2 separate regions of the Homo sapiens genome follow, and region 2 is linked to region 1. The links are contacts of gene promoters, found by promoter capture Hi-C in human tissues and cell types (Jung and others, 2019). All regions are on one chromosome and are shown on one strand. The core of a region is centred on a gene start or on the middle of the fragment in contact, and the rest is flanking DNA. Distances in the headings are between cores, read along the strand shown.

Region 1 (5,296 bases), core at 1,650-4,149:
TGTAATCCCATTTACAATAACCCCAAATAAAACTAAATACCTGGGAATTAACTTAAGAGAAAGATGTCTACAATTAATATTGTAAAACACTGATGAAGGAAATTGAAGAAGACACAAAAAAGAAGGATATTCCATGTTTATATATTGTAAGCATTAATATTGTTAAAAATGTCCATACTACCCAAAGCAATGCACAGATTCAATGCAGTCTCTCAAAATACCAATGGCATTCTTCAAAGAAATAGAAAAAAAAAAACCCTAAAATTTGTATGGAACCACAAAAGACCCAGAATAGCGAAAGCTACCTTCAGCAAAAAGAACAAAACTGGAGGAATCATATTACCTGACTTCAAATTATACTACAGAGGTATAATAACCAAAACAGTATGGTACTTGTATAAAAACAGACACAGACCAATGAAATAGAATAGAGAACCCAGAAACAATTCCACACACCTACGGTGAACTCATTTTCAACAATGTTGTCAAGAACATACACTGGGGGAAAAGACAGTCTCTTCTGGTGCTGGGAAAGCTGGATTTTAACATGCAGAATAATGAAACTAGAACCCTGTATCTCACCAGACACAAAAATCAAATCAAGGTGGACGAAAGACTGAAACCTGGCTGAGTGCCGTGGCTCATGCCTGTAATCCCAGCATTTTGAGAGGCCGAGGCGGGTGTATCACTTGAGGTCAGGAGTTCAAGACCAGCCTGGCCAACATGGTGAAACCACATGTCTACCAAAAAATACAAGAGTTAGCTGGACATGCTGGTGCGTGCCTGTAGTCCCAGCTACACAGAAGGCTGAGGTGGCAGAATCACTTGGACCCAGGAGGCGGAGGTGGCAGTGAGCTGAGATCATGACAATGCACCCCAGCCTGGGCAAGAGAGTGAGACTCTGTCAGAAAAACAAAAAACAAAAAAACAAAAAACAAAACTGAAATCTGAGACCTCAAACGATGAAACTGCTACAAGAAAACATTGTGGAAACTCTTCAGGATATTGGTCTGGGCAAAACTTTCTGAAGAACTACCCCACAAGCACAGGCAACCAAAGCAAAAATGGACAAATGGATCAGATCAAGTTAAAAAGCTTCTGTACCACAAAGAAAGCAATCAACAAAGTGAAGACACAAACCACAGAATGGGAGAAAATATTTTCAAAGTCACACTCTGACAACAGATTAATAGCCAGAATACATGAAGCGCTCAAACAACTCTGTAAGGAAAAATCTAATAATCCAATCAAAAAATGGGCAAAATTTGAATAGACATTTTTCAAAAGAAGACATACAAATGCCACATAGGCATATGATAAGGTGCTCAACATCACTGGTCATTAGAGAAATGCAAATCAAAACCACAATGAGATATCATCTTACCCCAGCTAAAATGGTTTTTATCCAAAAGACAGGCAACAACAAATGCCAGCGAGAATGTGGAGAAAAGGGAACCCTTGTACACTGTTGGTGTAAATTAGTGCAACCACTATAGAGAACAATTTGGAGGTTCCTCAAAACATTAAAATTAACATTAAATAGAGCTACCACAATATCCAGAAATCCCCATGCTGGGTATATACCTGGAAGAAAGGAAATCATATATTGAAGAGATAACATCACTCCAATATTCACAATAGCCACTATTCACAAATGCCAAGATTTGGAAGCAACCTAAGTGTCCATCAACAGATGAATGGATAAAGAAAGTACTCCAATTATACACAATGGAGCACAATTCAGCCATGAAAAAAGCATGAGATCCTGTTATCTGTAATAATATGGATGGAACTGGAGGTCATCATGTTAAGTGAAATAAGCCAGGCACAGAAACACAGATATTGCAAGTTCTCACATACTTGTGGGATCTACAAATCAAAACAACTGAGCTAATGTCTGGGCCTTAGTCAGTGTTGTACCCAAGTACTGGGAGCACAGCTTTTAAAATACATCATGAATGCTTTAATACAGGAATGAATAGATGAGAGGCACAAACTGGTTGGGTGTTCTTCTGATACACAGTATCTTCCTTGACAGATTCAGTACAACTCTCAACAGGTAAGTCTCTTCATGTTATGTTACCTTATGAGGAATTAAGTGGCAGAACATGATTTCTATTATTTTCCTTTGCAGAACAAGACCAACTTTATTAGTTGGGACACAGTGTGGCTGCATTTGAGTCCCAAGCAACCATTAGTCTATTGCTATCACCACAGAGTCAGAGGGGATGAGACGCCCAGCAATCTCACCCAAGACAACTCCACCAACATTCCTGGTTACCCACCATGTGTACAGTACCCTGCTAGGAACCAGGGTCATGAAAGTAAATAATACCAGACTGTGCCCTTGAGGAGCTCACCTCTGCTAAGGGAAACAGGCATAGAAACTTACAATGGTGGTAGAGAGAAAAGAGGACAATAGGACTGTGTGAGGGGGATAGGAGGCACCCAGAGGAGGAAATGGTTACATTTGTGTGAGGAGGTTGGTAAGGAAAAATTTTAGCAGAAGGGGTCTGTCTGGCTGGGCTTGGAAGGATACGTAGGAGTCATCTAGAGGGCACAGGTACACTCCAGGCAGAGGGAATTTCGTGGGTAAAGATGTGTAGGTGTGGCTTGTGAGGATGGATTTCAATTATTCTAGAATGAAGGCAGCCATGGAGGGGCAGGTGAGAGGAGGGTTAATAGATTTCATGCCAATGGCTCCACTTGAGTTTCTGATAAGAACCCAGAACCCTTGGACTCCCCGATAACACTGATTAAGCTTTTCATGATTCCTCATAGAACATGAACTCAAAAGAGGTCAGCAAAGGGGTGTGTGCGATTCTTTGCTATTGGCTGCAGCTATAGCCCTGCCTCCTTCTCCAGCACATAAATCTTTCAGCAGCTTGGCTGAAGACTGCTGTGCAGGGCAGGGAAGCTCCAGGCAAACAGCCCAGCAAACAGCAGCACTCAGCTAAAAGGAAGACTCACAGAACACAGTTGAAGAAGGAAAGTGGCGATGGACCTCATCCCAAATTTGGCGGTGGAAACCTGGCTTCTCCTGGCTGTCAGCCTGGTGCTCCTCTATCTGTGAGTAACTGTCCAAACTCCTCTCTTTGTTTCCTTGGACTTGGGGTGCTAATCGGGCCCCTTTTCCCTTATCTGTTTTGAAGATCAAAAGAGATGTTCAAGGAGAAGTAGCTGAAGTGTTGGACGCTACAAACGCATAGAAGTTATTATTATCTTATGCAGATCTATGAATGAATAAATAAGCATTTCTCCCATCCACCTTCTAATTTTGGTGACTAGGAGGGTTTAGGGACAGCATTTGGTAGTGGGAATGATTTGATTAGCTTAGATCTGACGAAGACTAATCAATGAAAACATGGCAGCGGCAGATTACAAACTGCTGATCATGATGGACAGTGTGATCCTCATCCCCTTCCCAGGCTCTGGGGATTCTGGGTACAGGAAGGAGTGGCTTGCATTTTTGTCTCATTAATTCGCTTTCTGGGTTCTGTGTCTGCTGGAAGGGATGTGTAGCTGTATTGCCCCTGTAGACCTGGTTCCTGCTCCCCCGCCTTCCAACCCAGGATATCATTTACATAACGCACCAGGGGACACCAAGACTTCATGGGAAGCTGTCCCCTGGCTCTTCCCTCTTTCCTGTGCCATGCCCCTGAAAATCCCCTCCCTCCTATGAGTCACTCCTCCACCCTGTCATACACAGGATGGTTTATCTTGCAATGATTAACCTCTAGAGCAAAGGAGACCTGGAGGAAGTTTCGAGGATTTATTCTTTGCTTTAATCTTTTTCCTCCCGTCTCTGGGAGGCTAGGATTAATATAGAGCTTTGTTTCTCACCTAATGGGAATCTACTAGCAGCCTGAAAAGGCAGGAGCCATGAAAGCCAATTTGGATTTTACATATTTTTCCCCTTTATGTTACAGTACAGGAGGGCAAACCCTCTCACTGGTGGGATTCCTGGCATCCTAGAGCAGGTGGAGAGAAGAGTTACTTTCCACTGTGGGTAGTGGAGGCTCCACCTGTCCCATTAACTTCTACCTCAATTTGACTTTTATTAAGAGCAGGGAACCACAATGACATGAAAATAGACACTATAAACCTCATTTTAATTCTTTCACAGAAAGCTTAGGAATTCAGTGAGTTGTGGCAACATGGTTTCCATTGTCTAACATTTTTAAATGAATTGATATGGTTTAAATTCATTCATTTTTAAACCAGAATTTTTTGGAGATAGACTATTTCCAGCATGTTCCTTCTGGATGGTAAAACAGGGCTGTTAGTTCAGTATTTGTGACAATAAGTGTGTGTAAAATAATGTCACCTTTCCTGAATGTCAGGAATATGAGTCTAATGCACAAATGTATACCTCTAAGACAAGACTGCACGTCTTTTCAAATATACCTGTCCGGCCATTTATTTTAATAACTCCTTTTCGAATATACCTGCTTAGCAGATTGTCTTAAACTCTCAGGACAGGGGAGTAAGCAAGACTGTGAGCCAGTGACGATAGCAAAGGCTTCCAGGTAGGATCCATATGAAGTGAGAAAATATTCCTCAGCTCTCAGGGTAGAACTCCAAAGAGATATTCATGGGTCCTGGCCCCACCGTGGAGGTCACTCAAAGGGCAAACAGGTTGGCATCTCATCTGCTTCAAGCCTGGACACAGGGGCACCATCTGTGTCACTCTGTGTGTGGTCTGCCATGTTGTGGGCCGGTCACTACAGACTCGGGCAGCCAGGCAGACAATGCCTTAGCCTTAGACAATGCTGGTGCAGCCCAGGAGTCAGAAAATGCAGTGTAGACCAGGCCCTCCTTAGGCCAACACAATTACATGCAATAGATGACTGGCTTTTCTGTTAGTCTCTTCACTGGACCCAAAGGCTGCATTACTCTACCAGAGGGGAGCTGGAAAGAAACTAAAGAGTTCGCCCAGCACAGCATCTGCCTTGACATGGTACCATGTGAATCTAGACACTCACCAAGATCTTTCCTTGGGGGCCAATGCTGCTGACACATTAACTCAATAGCTTGTCCTCACCTGAGAGGTCAGGTAATGTGTTTAAAGTTCAGGAGCAGAGATTAGTGTCATTGATTTGACATGGCTGTGACAACAAAGGAGGGAACTGAAGTGGGAATACCCAAGGCCACCCTGGCTTTGGCAGGTGGTGCACGCACTTCCACTAACTGTTCTGGGGCAGGGAACCAAATGTATGACTGGGCCTGCTCATGCTGCCCCTGCTGAGTCCTCCAAACCCTGCCCTTCATGTAATTTCTCAGTTTTATTTTATCA
Region 2 (5,296 bases), core at 747-3,246, 49 kb before region 1:
CCAGTTCCTCAGTCAGTGACTCACCAGCCCCTATATCTATAAAGTCACAATCCCTGAGACCTGATTTTTGTTTCACTTTGTAGATATGGAACCCGTACACATGGACTTTTTAAGAAGCTTGGAATTCCAGGGCCCACACCTCTGCCTTTTTTGGGAAATGCTTTGTCCTTCCGTAAGGTGAGTGTTTTTGAGCTTCCTCTTTTGCTTCTTATGATTGCAAAGAGCAACTTAGTTCCATCAGTAAAAATGCTTCTCCTCAAGAGGAAGGTCTGAGATTTTATACTTTCAGAAATAGCGTGTAGGCATCACCCAGAGCGTGGCAAAGTTTACCCTGGGGCTCTCTTGCTAACTCTCAGGAACCTCAAGTTTGCCTCAGTTGGACAGCCCAAATGTCAAGTAGATCCAGCAATCTGATGTTCACAACTTGATGTGCAGACTTTGTGAGCACCATAAAGAGCATTTCCTTTTTGCTCCAGGCAGGTTCCCAGGAAGGTACAGCCATACTTAGTTAGTATTAAAAGTAGGAACAGGAGCCCCTGATTGTGGCTTGTTATCTGTGGACATGAGAGTAAAACTTTCCTCTCTGTAGCAAGAGCTCATGAATAGGCTTTTTTCCCTTCCTCCTGCACAGCTTGGAAACTCAGTTTATTAGGGAGATCAAGTATTTACCATTGGGTCATTTGCACCTGCTTGAAGCCTCTTCAAAAAATGCCAAATTTTGTTGGGGAATTTCCATGGCTTTAACCCAGGTCTTACTCCCCATGACATCTGTTGCCACTTTGAGACACAGAACAAAAGTGTTCTGCTTTACTTCTTTTCCTTTGAAGGCTGCGTCTTGTGGGTGAGTCTGAGCAGGGAGTGGATGTAACTGAGATGAGATAGTGGTTGTCTATTAACCTCAGATATTTAAGCACAATATGAATTCATGGGTTTATTTTTTACACAAAGGCAGAATCACATGCAAAATCACTAGAAAGGGGATGATTTGACAAAATTATTGAATATTTAATTTCACTAAATAGAATGTCATATGTGCCTCATGGACTGGGGACTTTGGTCGAGCCTTTGTGCCTAACCTTATCTGATGCTGTGTTCAGGGCCTGGTCCCTGGATGGAAAATTATGAGCTTATTTCCACAGGGCCAGCAGCAGCAGGAGTCAGCTCTCTGGCTTAGACAATCTGACCTGCATACCTGAGGCTTGTTTCTCAGATTCTAGTTCTCCTAAGTGAGGGCTTTGTTGTCTAATTACTGCCCAGGAATTTCATATTTTTTCCCTCTGCAAAAGCAATAATTTCCCTACTTTCACATGCGTCCGTGTGAGGAGACCACCAAACAGGCTTTGTGTGAGCAATAAATGTTTTTAATCACTTGGGTGCAGGCCAACTGAGTCTGAAAAAGGAGTCAGCAAGGGGAGATAGGGGTGGGGCAGTTTTATAGGAGTGGGGTAAGCAGTGGAAAGTTACAGTTAAAGGTGGTTATCCATTGTCAGCAGTGGAGGGGGCCACAAGGTGCATGGTGGGGAGATCATAAGACTCATTGTGCAGAGAAGAATGTCACCAGGTTGATTGATCAATCAGTTGGGACAGGGCAGGAACAAGTCATAATGGAATGTCGTAAGATTGCTCAATCAGTTAAGACAGGAGCTGGCTGTTTCATTTCTTTTGCAGTTTTCAGTTGCCTCAGGCCATCTGGATGTACACGTGCAGGCTTGGGCTCAGAGGCCTGACATTCCTGTCTTTTTATATTAAGAAAAATAAAACAAAATAGTGGCAAAGTGTTGGGGCAGCAAAAATTTTTGGGGGGTGGTATGGAGAGATAATGGATGATGTTTCTCAGGGCTGCTTCAAGCGGGATTATGGGCCATGTGGACACCTTAAAGAAAATTTTATAATGAGTTACAAGGAATAGGAATTTAGGCTGTGGGGAGATCTTGGGGCAGAGGATGGTACCATGGACTTGTTAAAAGTAATATTTGTTGTATAGAATAATTGGTGATAGTCTGAATGTGTTTTTATATTAATTGAGAAACCAATTGAAGACACAAGTCCCGAATAACAGAAGGAGAAAAACAGGTACCAGAGGACTAAGAATAGGGAGGAGCTAAGACACCCAGTTAGAAAGTGTCCAGGTGGGTCCAAAATAAGTATTTGCCTGGCTGGTGAGTTTTTGGTCTTTATCTTTAAGCTTTTTTATATTGTCATATACCAGGCCAGATTGGTTTAGATAAAAACAACATTCTTCATTTAAAAATATAGAGTACTCCTTTTTCAGCAGTGAGTAGGTCAAGGCCTCAGCGATGTTGGAGGACGACTAGGGCTAAGAAGTCAACCTGGGTCTGAAGGACTGATAAAGTTTGTGATGTATCTGTAATGCTAGCAGAAAAGTCATTAGAAAGGCTACAGAAAGTTGTGACAGAAGTTGAAATACCTGCTATTCCAGCTCCAAGGGCAATAGTGGAAGCAGAAAGTCCTAACCCTACAAGTAGAGGGATTAGAGGAATAACTCATTTTTGTCTGGTTGGTGTCATGAGGGGGACAGGAAGTTGTTCAGTCCCATTTGCAAATTGAATTTTTTCAATTTGGGAATAAGAAATACTAGTGTACATGTACCTGTCCAATTAGCAGATAGACATATGTACGTGGTGGAGCCACAGAGGAAGCAGAGGCCTTGTGTGAGGCAAAACTGGAAATGCAAAGTGAAAAGATGAGAGGGAGTGCCAAAAGAGGTGTCTTGCACCCAGACTCTTAGGGATTTAGTGAGGGCATCAGCCCTTAGTGGTCATAATGGGGATTGATGGGGCAACTGGGTATGAGAAAGAGCATAGTGTCTACAACCAAACTTTCATTGCTATTCATGGGGTTCGGTATAAGTAAACAAGAAGGGGGAATGGGAGGAGAGTCTGAAGAACAAGGGGAAGGTAGCCAAGAATGGAGTGAAATACAGGGCAAATGTCTTAAGGGAAATGAGAAGTTCTAGGAGGGGGCTAGTTGCTTGTAACCTACATGGAAGAGGTCATGAAATGACAACAGAATAGAATGGGCCTGTGAGACTGGAAGGAGATATTTTTCTTGGTCTAAGAACCATCTTCCTTGAGTGGGGAGGGATTGATAGATGGAAACTTCAGTGGGAGAGTAAATAGGAGTGACTGATGAGAAGGAGAAAAACTGGCCATGAGGGACAGAAGTAGGAATACTGGTTGCTTCTTTAGCTGTCTTATCAGCATAATTGTTGCCTTGAGCAATGGGGTCTGAGGCCCTTTGATGGCCTTTGCAGTGAATGACTCCAGCTTTTTTTGGAAGTAAAGTGGCCTTGAGAAGAATTTTTATTAAAGAGGCATTAATGATGGAGGACACTTGCATAGTGAAGAAACTTCTTTCAGCCCATATTACAGCATGGTGGTGCAGGATATGGACAGCATTTAGAGTCAGTATAAATATTGATGTGTAGTCCCTTTGCAAGAGTGAGGCCCCAAGTTAAGGCAATGAGTTTGGCTTGCTGAGAGATAGTGGAGGGGGGCAGAGCAGTAGCCTCAATGATAGATGTGGAAGATAATATAGCACAGCCTGCCTTTGCTGGTGAGTGGTGATTAGGCCTGGTGGAACTGCCATCAATAAACTAACTGTGATTCAGGTGAAAAACAGGAAAGAAGGAAATATGGGGAAATAGAGTGAATGTCAGATGGATCAGAGAGATACAGTCATGGGGATAAGGTGTGGTATCAGGAATAATGTGGGAGGCCAGACTGAAGCCCAGGCCAGGTACAATGGTAATTGTGGGAGACTCAACAGAGAGTGGGTATTGCTAAAGGAGCTGGGGAACAGAAAGTATATGCATCAGGTGTGAGGAAGGAAATATATTTTGGAAGTTATGAGAACTGTATGGAGTGAGTTGAGCATAGTTTGTGATTTTGAGGGCTTCTAAAAGTATTAGGGTGGTGGCAGCCACTGCACAGAGACATGATGACCAGCCTAAAACAGTAAGGTCAAGTTGTTTGGACAAAAAGGCTACAGAGCACGGTCCCAGTCCTTGTGTAAGAATTCCAGCTGCACAGCCCTGCACTTTGGCTGTGTGTAATGAAAAGAGTTGGGATGAGTCAGGAAGAGCTAGTATGGGAACAGCCTCTAGAGCTGTCTTCAAGGAATGGAAAGAGGAGTGAGGAAAGGATTTAGGACTTATGGGGTCAGCTAGGTTTCCCTTTGTGAGTTTATATAATGGTTTTGTTAGGATGGCAAAACCAGGTATCCAAAGGCAAAAGTATCCAACCATGCCCAGGAAGGAAAGGAGTTGTTTTGTAGAAGGGGTTGGGGTTTCAGAGATCAGCCAGACATGATCAGCAGGGAGACCCCATGTGTTTTCATGAAGAATTATGCTGAGGTACGTAACGGATGGAGAAGAAATTTGAGCTTTGGAGGGGGATACCCGATATCCTTTGGAGAGTAAATGTTGAAGGAGCAGGAGGGTATCTTGTTGAAAAGACTCAAAGGAGGGACTACAGAGTAGAAGGTCATCAATATATTGAATAATGTGGGAAGCAGAGGGATGGGAAGAAAGTAAATCATGAGAGAGAGCTTGGCTGAAGTAATGAGGGCTGTCCCAGAAGCCTTGTGGCAGTACAGCCCAGGTAAGCTGCTGGGACTGATGGGTGTCAGGGTCAGTTTAGGTAAAAGCAAAGAGAGGCTGGGATGTGTGGTGCAGGGGAATAGTGAAAAAAGCATCTTTAAGATCAAGAATGGAATAGTGAGTTGTGGAGGGAGATATTGAGAACAAAAGAGTGTACGGGTTGGGCACCACAGGGTGGATAGGAAAACAATTTTGTTGATAAGGCGCAGATCCTGAACAAACCTGTAAGACTTGTCTGGTTTTTAGACAGGTAAGATGGGGGAATTATAAGGAGAGTTTGTAGGCTTTAGAAGCCCATGCTGTAGCAGGTGAGTGATAACAGGCTTCAATCTCCTTAAAGCCTCTTGTGGGATGGGATACTGGCGTTAAGCTGGGTAAGGGTGATTAGGCTTTAATGGGATAGTAATGGGCATGTGATCAGTTGCCAGGGAGGGAGTAGAGGTGTCCCATACCTGTGGGTTAAGGTGGGGGGATACAAGAGGAAGACACGAAGGAGGCTTTGGGTTGGGAAGAAGGATGGCAATGAGATGTAGCTGTAGTCCAGGAATAGTCAGAGAAGCAGATAATTTGGTTAAAATATCTCAGCCTAATAAGGGAACTGGCAGGTGGGGATAACTAAAAAGGAGTGCATAAAAGAATGTTGCCCAATTTGGCACCAAAGTTGGGGAGTTTTAA

What was found. Contacts are between HindIII fragments. The study calls those that stand out against the background at their distance.
Region 2: a fragment that was not itself captured here is called in contact with the fragment with the promoter of CYP3A5 in region 1 in 5 of the 25 tissues and cell types used here (IMR-90 fibroblasts, dorsolateral prefrontal cortex, liver and 2 more).

Annotation. Positions count from the first base shown.
Region 1 is chr7:99,677,599-99,682,894 of GRCh38, reverse strand. CYP3A5 (cytochrome P450 family 3 subfamily A member 5) reads left to right here and starts at 2,899. Exons shown (of 13, transcript NM_000777.5): 1 at 2,899-3,069. The coding sequence starts at 2,999. It also overlaps a transcript of ZSCAN25 not described here. RefSeq lists promoters at 2,208-2,946, 2,814-2,979. The HindIII fragment of the contact is 4,941 bases long and covers 1,929-5,296 here.
Region 2 is chr7:99,725,940-99,731,235 of GRCh38, reverse strand. It overlaps CYP3A7-CYP3A51P (CYP3A7-CYP3A51P readthrough), which reads left to right. Exons shown (of 15, transcript NM_001256497.3): 2 at 84-177. CYP3A7 (cytochrome P450 family 3 subfamily A member 7) reads left to right here. Exons shown (of 13, transcript NM_000765.5): 2 at 84-177. It also overlaps a transcript of ZSCAN25 not described here. Among named protein-coding and RNA genes, the nearest start is that of CYP3A7, 6.6 kb to the left of the region's middle. The HindIII fragment of the contact is 5,911 bases long and covers 1-4,951 here.